3 separate regions of the Homo sapiens genome follow, and regions 1 and 3 are each linked to region 2. Evidence: promoter capture Hi-C in 16 types of primary human blood cells and fetal thymus (Javierre and others, 2016). All regions are on one chromosome and are shown on one strand. Each heading gives the region's core, a stretch centred on a gene start or on the middle of the fragment in contact. The rest is flanking DNA. Distances are from core to core; before and after follow the strand shown.

Region 1 (2,905 bases), core at 313-2,812, 3.7 Mb before region 2:
CTGAGCCCACAGCCCTGGCCTCCCAGGGAGATGCTGCCAGCACCCACACTTTGACCAGCCGGGGTGTGAAAAGCTTCAGTGGGACAGGCTTGCTCTTCTCACAGGTCAGCGGCCGGCAGAGCTGCTTCTGGCTTTCCATTTCGGTCAGTGTGCTCTGACACAGCTCCTGAAAAACACGAAATCCCCGACTCTGCGATGACTCACCTGCTGCGTGCCCTGAGCTCCACGCACGGGTTCTGTGGTGTCAAGGCAGCGTGAGGACAGTGCTGCGAGCTCCCTGCAGCAGGATGGTGCCCTTGCTGTGCGCCTACCGGTGGGCGGGGGGGTAAGCCAAGGCTGTGGCTGCTCAAGTCCTGGCACAGCCGGAACGAAGTAAAGCCACTGTCTTCTTGAAGAGGGAGGGCCGTGGGCTGGCCCCTGAGAGCACTCTCTGAAAGGAGGGGACTTGGGGAGTTGGAGGTCACCATAGCCTGTGCTCCTCACAGCCAGAAACGTCAACAGAACCCCTCTTTCCCAGACAAACTTGGCACGAAAGGCCGTGAGCCACTTGCTTCGTGAGAAGGCTCACAGGAGAACCCCTTTCTGCCGCGGGGGGCCGTGTGCATGCTAGAGCCCAGTGTGCAAACTGACGCTGGGTGCTAGGCGGGGCAGGGTTTCCACCAGTCTTGGCAGTTTGACCTTATTTTCAAGCCAACAGAACCAGATGGTTAAGACCCATTTTCACCAAGACCTTGGCTTCCAGAAGAGTTGGCTGGTGGCTTCTGAGGAATCTCCCGAAAGGTAGTTCACTGAGGTTGGTCCTACCCGCTTTCTCCTGCACAGGTGTGTCCTGGAACCCTGGCTGCACCCACAGATACAGCCACTCCTGGGCCCATGTGGATGTAACCTTCGAGTGCCGGAATGCCTCGTCTCCATGGAGACCAAACTCAAGGGCCTGACTGGCCCAGTCTACCGAGACCATGAGACCTGCTGTGCCCCTCGGCCAGGCCAACCCAAATTCTTTTAAATAAAAGGCACAAGCCACAGCCACACCAGCAGGAAGTGGATACAGGATAAGGGGCAGGGCTCACATCTCATCCTCATCAGCCTTTGACCAGGCGACGGAGTCTGTGATAGCTAGCTTATCTGCTCTATGCTCCAGGGACCTGGCCGGAACGAGCCGAGTTGCTGTCCTCATGGAACTCTCATCCTAGTGGGGCAGAGACAAGGACGGTGTAACGTGCCCGGGGGTCAGCACCACAGACAAAACGCAGGGAGCACGGCACAGTGTGGGCCAGGGAAGGCCTGGCTTCCCAAGGGTGTGGGCGCGAGCAGCATGGCTGTGGGGAGTTCTAGGTGCAGAGAACTACTCCAGAGACGAAGCCAGGCCTGCGAGGAGGCCGGAGCGCATGAGGGGAAGGCACGAGGCAAGGCTGCCAGGGCTGTGCTGGTGGTGCGGGACGGTCCTGTGGGGGTAGCTGCGGAGATGGCACTGATGCCTTCGGCTCCAGCAGCATCCTGGGCTGGTGCGGGCCAATAAGGGGCAGGGTTGGGGCAGGATGAAAGGCACAAGCCACAGCCATGTCAAGCAGGAAGTGGATGCAGGGTACAGCCTGTCAGGGTCAGGGTGAAAGGCAGGGAGGCGGGTAGGCCATAGGTGAATTTGGAGCAGCCTGTAGAGGACAGGATGTGCCATCAAAGACTTGTTCTTGGGTCCAGCTGAGACTGTCCCTTGGGGCTTCCTGTCACCTTGTGCAGGATAGTGAGACCATCCTTGGAAAACCCATCGGGACTGCAGAGCGCGGCTCAGAGCTGACTGTCCAGGCCTGGCAGGGGCTGACCCCTGGGCGCTGGTGCACCCTCCGTGCGGCCTCTTGGAGGAAGCACACAAGGCGACAGTTCCCAGCTGCCGCCTGAGATGCAGCATCTGCTTTACTCCAGCCCAGCACTGCTCACCGTCACTGCCCACTCTTATGATTTTACTTCCCTTCATATTTGTGATTTTGCAAAGATGGTGTTGACTTACAGCTGCAGCATCAAATGACTGACTGCCACCAGCTTGGCCCCAGCTCAGGGACATGTCTGAGCCCAGGCAGAGCACCCTAGTGGCCGGGAAGCCTCACCTGGAGCTCCTGCGGGTGGCTGCAGTCCGCCAGGTGATCCGTGAGGAGGGCTTGGAGAGGCCCCATGATGGCGTGGAAGGATGGCAGGGACCCGTACATGAGCACGCAGCGCTTCAGCAGGGCCAGGCCCACAGCCAGGCAGGACAGTCTGTGAGGGCAGGAGGCAAGAGGAGGTCCAACTTGTTCTGTTTGTCACTGACAAAACCAATAACGTGGCAAAAATGAACTTCCCCACTTCCACTAGGCTGAAAACTCCAGTGTGGCCACCTTGGCCGGCCAGGGTTGGGCCCATGCAACCACGGGCAAGGCAGGCTCAGGGTCAGGCCTAACGCAGGAGGGGAGGCTGTGGGAACCGCAGCGCCAGCTGGGATGGGGCGGCTCCATTTTTGGTTCCAAATTATGATTTGTGAAATCAAGCAAATGTATTTTGAAAATGAAAAGAAAAAGGGACAGCAAGCCAACATGCCTCAGAAAGGCTTTCGGCCTCCATCAAACCAAACGGCCGGGCGGCAAGTTCACTAAGAACAGCACATCAGAAAGCACGAGTGGCTTCTCCTGCCTCTGGGGACGCTGTAGGGCACAGGCCCCAAAGCGGGGTCCCCTCACATACCGGATGTGATTGGCCTCTGTCGAAGTTGGGGCCCTCAGTCTACTCGCCCAGCGGAGGGAGAGGCTGCTCTGCTGCCACGTGGCCACATCCTCTCTAGCAGACACCACGAGCAGTTCCGAGTTCTTCCCAAGCGCTCTGAAAGGGTGCACCAGAGTGGAACCTGAATTCCAAGTGCGACAGGACAGAGATGGCC
Region 2 (2,700 bases), core at 201-2,700:
GGTATGGAACTCCTGAGCTCAAGCGATCCTCTCACCTCAGCCTCCCAAAGTGCTGGGATTATAGGCGTGAGCCACACGCCCGGCCTGGGTGTTTATGATTTAGAATGTTGGTGAGAGGTGACAGTGTGCTGGCAGTCCTCACAGCCCTCGCTCACTCTCGGTGCCTCCTCTGCCTGGGCTCCCACTTTGGCAGCACTTGAGGAGCCCTTCAGCCCACTGCTGCACTGTGGAGGCCCCTTTCTGGGCTGGCCAAGGCCAGAGCCGGCTCTCTCAGCTTGCAGGGAGGTGTGGAGGGAGAGGCGCGAGCGGGCACCGGGGCTGCACACGGCGCTTGCGGGCCAGCTGGAGTTCAGGGTGGGCGTGGGCTTGGTGGGCCCCGCACTCGGAGCAGCCGGCTGGCCCTGCCAGCCCCCGGCAATGAGGGGCTTAGCACCCGGGCCAGCGGCTGCGGAGGGTGTACTGGGTCCCTCAGCAGTGCCAGCCCACCGGCGCTGTGCTCGATTTCTCACCGGGCCTTAGCTGCCTTTCCGAGGGGCAGGGCTCGGGACCTGCAGCCCGCCATGCCTGAGCCTCCCACCCCCTCCATGGGCTCCTGTGCTGCCCGAGCCTCCTCGACGAGCACCACCCCCTGCTCCACGGCGCCCAGTCCCATCACCACCCAAGGGCTGAGGAGTGTGGGCGCACGGTGCCGTTCTCGCAGGCAGCTCCACCTGCAGCCCTGGTGTGGGATCCACTTGGTGAAGCCAGCTGGGCTCCTGAGTCTGGTGGGGATGTGGAGAACCTTTATGTCTAGCTCAGGGATTGTAAATACACCAATCAGCACCGTGTGTCTAGCTCAGGGTTTGTGAATATACCAATCGACTCTGCTGGGGCCTTGGAGAACCTTTGTGTCTAGCTCAGGGATTGTAAACGCACCAATCAGCACCCTGTCAAAACAGACCACTCGGCTCTACCAATCAGCAGGATGTGGGTGGGGCCAGATAAGACAATAAAAGCAGGCTGCCGGAGCCAGCAGTGGCAACCGGCTCAGGTCCCCTTCTATTGTGGAAGCTTTGTTCTTTCTCTCTTTGCAATAAATCCTGCTGCTGCTCACTCTTTGGGTCCACACTGCCTTTATGAGCCGTAACAGGTCTGCAGTTTCACTCCTGAGCCGGCGAGACCACGAACCCACCAGAAGGAAAAAACTCCGAACACATCCGAACATCAGAAGGAACAAACTCCAGACGCGCCACTTTAAGAGCTGTAACACTCACCGCGAGGGTCCGTGGCTTCATTCTTGAAGTCAGTGAGACCAAGAACCCACCAATTCCGGACACATTGGGAACTTAGAGCAGTGCTTGGGACATGGTTATCAGCGTCAGATATTTCCTTAAACTAGCGTGAAGTCGACTTTAACCTTCCAGCAGTGTGAGTGAGGGCCCTGACCCTAGAATCAACGCCCAAAGAGCTGTGGCGCTACAGCGGGCGGGGACATGGGGTGCGCATGCGTGCGGGGGGGTACGCGTGCGTGCAAGTGCGCGTGCGCGCGCAGGACCGCTGAGGCGGGAGCCCCGAATGCGGTTCTCGCTTGCTGCGTGGCGGTAAAGGACCGCAGGTGTCGTAAAAGGGCCGCAGTGGCAGCGTCCTGGCCGACGGCTAGTAGCCCATTTTGGATACCGTCCTCGCTGCGGAAAGTTGGGGCAACCTGTTGCTAGTCTGGTCGTTGGTGACAGCGAGGCTTCCGCGCTCGCTGCTGGTGAGCAGCCCCGGCGTGCCCCGCGGGCTGGAAGAGGCGGCGGCGTGATGCGGCCCGTGGACGCGGACGAGGCGCGGGAGCCCCGCGAGGAGCCGGGCAGCCCGCTGAGCCCCGCGCCCCGCGCCGGCCGCGAGAACCTGGCCTCCCTGGAGCGCGAGCGCGCCCGGGCGCACTGGCGGGCCCGCAGGAAGCTGCTGGAGATCCAGAGCCTGCTCGACGCCATCAAGAGTGAGGTGGAGGCAGAGGAGCGGGGCGCCCGGGCCCCAGCACCCCGCCCGCGTGCGGAGGCTGAGGAGCGGGTGGCTCGGCTGTGCGCCGAAGCAGAGAGGAAGGCTGCGGAGGCGGCGCGGATGGGCAGGCGGATCGTGGAGCTGCACCAGCGGATCGCCGGCTGCGAGTGCTGCTGAGCCGGCGAGGCCGCGCGGGTCTGGAGCGGAGCGCGGCGGGGAGTGTCCCGCGTGGAAGGCGCTGGGTAGGCAGGGAGGGGAGCGCAGAGCCGTGCCACGCTCTCCGCGGAGTTGGTTTCATTCTTTTTTCATAGGTAATTAGAGAAAATAATTTGATATGTTGTTGTAAAGAGTCATGACCACTGGAAGTATTTTCAGGACGTAGACCTGGTGGGTCACTACGTGGGGGGAGAGAGGTGTGAAGCGGAGGTACATGCTGGAAACGTGTGAATGTTGTTACGAGATTGGAGCGTTTGCGATGACCTTCCTGCAGGTGGAAGCATTGTGCACAGGTGGTTGGGTTTGTTTGACTCCCGGATATGAGAATATCAAGCTCAAAATTTATGTTGTGATGATGAATTTCTCCCACTTGTACTTTAGGTGGCCAACTGACGAACTGTGTTCACCTGATAAGGAGTCGTGGCTGCTTGGACAGGCTCAAACCAAGAGAGCCTTTCGTTTTGTCTCCCCTGTTTTTCTGCCTGCGTTTTCTCCACATTAGCCACTCAATTTCCAGTA
Region 3 (2,923 bases), core at 126-2,625, 5.0 Mb before region 2:
TTTTTTTTTAACAAATTACAGGTCTATCAAATTAGAAAAGAAACATTTACACAGCCTTTACCTTCCTGATGATGATTTTCTCTCTCTTCCAAAGTCATTGATGAGGAGTTTCCTTTTATATCTGAGGGCAAAATAAATATTGCTGTTTTTAAAAAAGATATAAAAATAAAGCAGCCAGGTCTGAGGAAGCTCCACCCTGATGCCCGCAGGCACACCATCCTATGCAATCCAGAAGCTCCGTGGGCCAAAAGAAATCTTTGTCAGGTTCAGTTTAAGTAGTGAGATCCACACAACAAAAATTTACATTCCCTAAAACTTGGCAGCCTTAAAAAAAGAAAAACAAAACATAAATTGAAATAAATTATTTTAAAAACACCAAACTTACTAATGGGACTCATATGCCTACTGGGCACTGCATACCTTCTCCAATCCTGGAGACCAAACGTGCCCCCTTTTCTCTTGTTCCTCATGAACTTCCTGAGGCATCTGCTTTCTATTGCAGTCATTACCAGAACGCAGTTTTGCAAAAAAAAAAGTATGACATCTCCAAAAGGAGTCTAGCGCAATCTGACGTTGAAACCACGAGCTACCTTGAGCTCCAAGTTCATGTGAGTATCTTTTTTTTTTTGAGATGGGGTCTCACTCTGTCACCCAGGCTAGAGTACAGTAGCACGATCATGGCTTACCACAGCCTCATATTCCTGGGCTGAAGCAATCATCTCACCTCAGCCTCCCAAGCAGCTAGGACTCCAGGCAAGTGCCGCCACAACCATCTCCAAAAAAATTTTTTTCTTTTTTTGGAGACATGGAGGTCTGTGTTGCCCAGGCTGCTCTTGAACTCCTGAGCTCAAGCAATCCTCCCGCCTCAGCCTCTCAAAAGTACTGAGATCAGGAGTGAGCCACCACCCCTGGCCTGTCATGCAGGTATCTAAATTATGTCATGTATTACTGTGCCTCCTCTCAAAATCTAAAATCCACCCAAGTTTGCTGAGGTGTTCAGTGCAGTTTGGACGCCAGAAGGTAATGAAGTAATTTATCTCCCGTGCATCTAGAGTAGCACTGGCTATATAACACCATCTTTGTACGATTCAGAGATTAGTCCTGCAAATCATTTGCTGCAGGGCCTCATTCTCTCCAGTACCACAGATGAGAAAGACTGGTTTTCAGGTATGATGAAAATCCATTTTCTTTTTTTTCTTTTTTTTTTTTTTTTTGAGACGGAGTTCCCTCTTGTTGCCCAGACTGGAGTGCAATGGCGAGATCTCGGCTCAGTGCAACCTCCGCCTCCCGGGTCCAAGCGATTCTCCTGCCTCAGCCTCCTGAGTAGCTGAGATTACAGGTTGCTGCCACCACGCCTGGCTAATTTTTAGTATTTTTAGTAGAGACGGGGTTTCTCCATGTTCGTCAGGCTGGTCTCGAACTCCTGATCTCAGGTGATCCGCCCGCCTTGGCCTCCCAAAGTACTGCGATTACAGGTGTGAGCCACCATGCCATGCAGAAAATCCATTTTCATACTCTTATATTGCTAGTTTGTAGTCTGTTAGTCTCCTTAAAGCATAGTAAGCTGACATTTCATACCGCTCTTACTGTCAGGAAGTAAGCCGGCCTGTCAGTAATGGCTCACTAAAGGGCCAGCAGTTTAAATTACACAGGTTGCACTAAAAGCTGCAGCTTTGGCCAGGCAAGGTGGATCACGCCTATAATCCCAACACTTTGGGAGGCCGAGGCGGGCAAATCACCTGAGGTCAGGAGTTCAAGACCAGCCTGGCCAATATGGTGAAACCTAGCCTCTACTAAAAATACAAAAATTAGCCGGACGTGGTGGCACACAGCTATAATCCCAGCTACTCGAGAGGCTGAGGCAGGAGAATCGCTTGAACCTAGGAAGCGGAAGTTGCAGTGAGCTGAGATTGCATCATTACACTCCAGCCTGGGAAACAGAGCAAGACTCCATCTCAAAAAAATAAGTAAGTAAATAAAAGCCGTAGCTTTCCATCACAAAGGGTATAATCAACAGAGCAGCCCAAACAGTGCTGTTTTCCAAAACAGGACAATTTTCAGGCACAGACCCATGAGATATCTGAAGAACAAATAGGGTCCACTCACAGGACAATCTGGACAGGTGGAATACGCATGAATAAGAGCTGCAGATAACCCCTGGCAAGGGGTGACTTGAGGGAGCAACTAGGCTATCGGTATGCAAGAACTGTTCTAAGACTTGTGCATGCAACACAAACTATACAAGTCAAGTCAAACATTCTAATTTTATAATTGAGGAAGTCAAGACCTATATAAATGCAATAATTCACTAAAAACACTGGTACTCTCATCTGTGAACTCCTAGTTCATTTCTTCTACCAAGGCATACATCCACCCACACATTTTGATACCAGAAGAAATGACAAATAACTCCCCCAAATGTTCAATAACCAATTCCCACATATTCCCGTCCCTTTTCAAAGGAGGCTGATATAAATACCATCACTGGCTGCCAAAATGAAAACAGGTAGTCTAGGTATCGTTCCGCGGCTGACACGCAAGACACATTTTTCTTGAGACCCTGTTTATCAGCCACTTGTTGGCTAAAATTATCTTGTAAAATACTTCAACCAATTATGAGCCACATTTTAACTGGGTTTGAATAAACCCAGTCCTTGCAACTGGGTTTGAGTTAGACAACTCATCAAAAGAGAAAGGATCAACACACTGATAATCAAGGGAGATTAAACATGGTTAAGGATGCATTAGGTAATGAGTCAACGAAGACGAAGTAGCTTAGTTTGCAAGAACTTGGATACACACAACAATCTTGTGTGCAACTGCAAGAGGTTCACAGAATCCAAGTTTGAGACCTTTCCTTGTATGTTGGCATTTCTGAGCTGTTTGTTGCCTAAGCCAAGTGTCAATGTATTCCTTCATCTGG

What was found. The method cuts DNA at HindIII sites, captures the fragments that hold promoters and counts their contacts. A CHiCAGO score of 5 or more calls a contact.
Region 1: a fragment that was not itself captured here is called in contact with the fragment with the promoter of LINC02482 in region 2 in 1 of 17 cell types (neutrophils); the score reaches 9.3 in neutrophils.
Region 3: a fragment that was not itself captured here is called in contact with the fragment with the promoter of LINC02482 in region 2 in 1 of 17 cell types (neutrophils); the score reaches 5.4 in neutrophils.

What each region holds. Positions count from the first base shown.
Region 1 is chr4:2,939,480-2,942,384 of GRCh38, forward strand. NOP14 (NOP14 nucleolar protein) reads right to left here. Exons shown (of 18, transcript NM_001291978.2): 14 at 2,713-2,872; 15 at 2,103-2,250; 16 at 48-166. All of the region lies in intron 2 of NOP14-AS1 (NOP14 antisense RNA 1), which reads left to right. Among named protein-coding and RNA genes, the nearest start is that of NOP14-AS1, 5.4 kb to the left of the region's middle. The HindIII fragment of the contact is 2,982 bases long and covers 72-2,905 here.
Region 2 is chr4:6,672,431-6,675,130 of GRCh38, forward strand. It overlaps LINC02482 (long intergenic non-protein coding RNA 2482), which reads right to left and starts at 1,451. Exons shown (of 2, transcript NR_134665.1): 1 at 1,254-1,451. It overlaps MRFAP1L2 (Morf4 family associated protein 1 like 2), which reads left to right and starts at 1,645. Exons shown (of 1, transcript NM_138699.3): 1 at 1,645-2,700. The coding sequence starts at 1,783. The coding sequence ends at 2,142. RefSeq lists an enhancer at 639-1,247 and a silencer at 1,720-1,949. The HindIII fragment of the contact is 2,330 bases long and covers 1,049-2,700 here.
Region 3 is chr4:1,699,950-1,702,872 of GRCh38, forward strand. It overlaps SLBP (stem-loop histone mRNA binding protein), which reads right to left. Exons shown (of 8, transcript NM_006527.4): 4 at 62-121. Among named protein-coding and RNA genes, the nearest start is that of SLBP, 11 kb to the right of the region's middle. The HindIII fragment of the contact is 4,067 bases long and covers 1-2,923 here.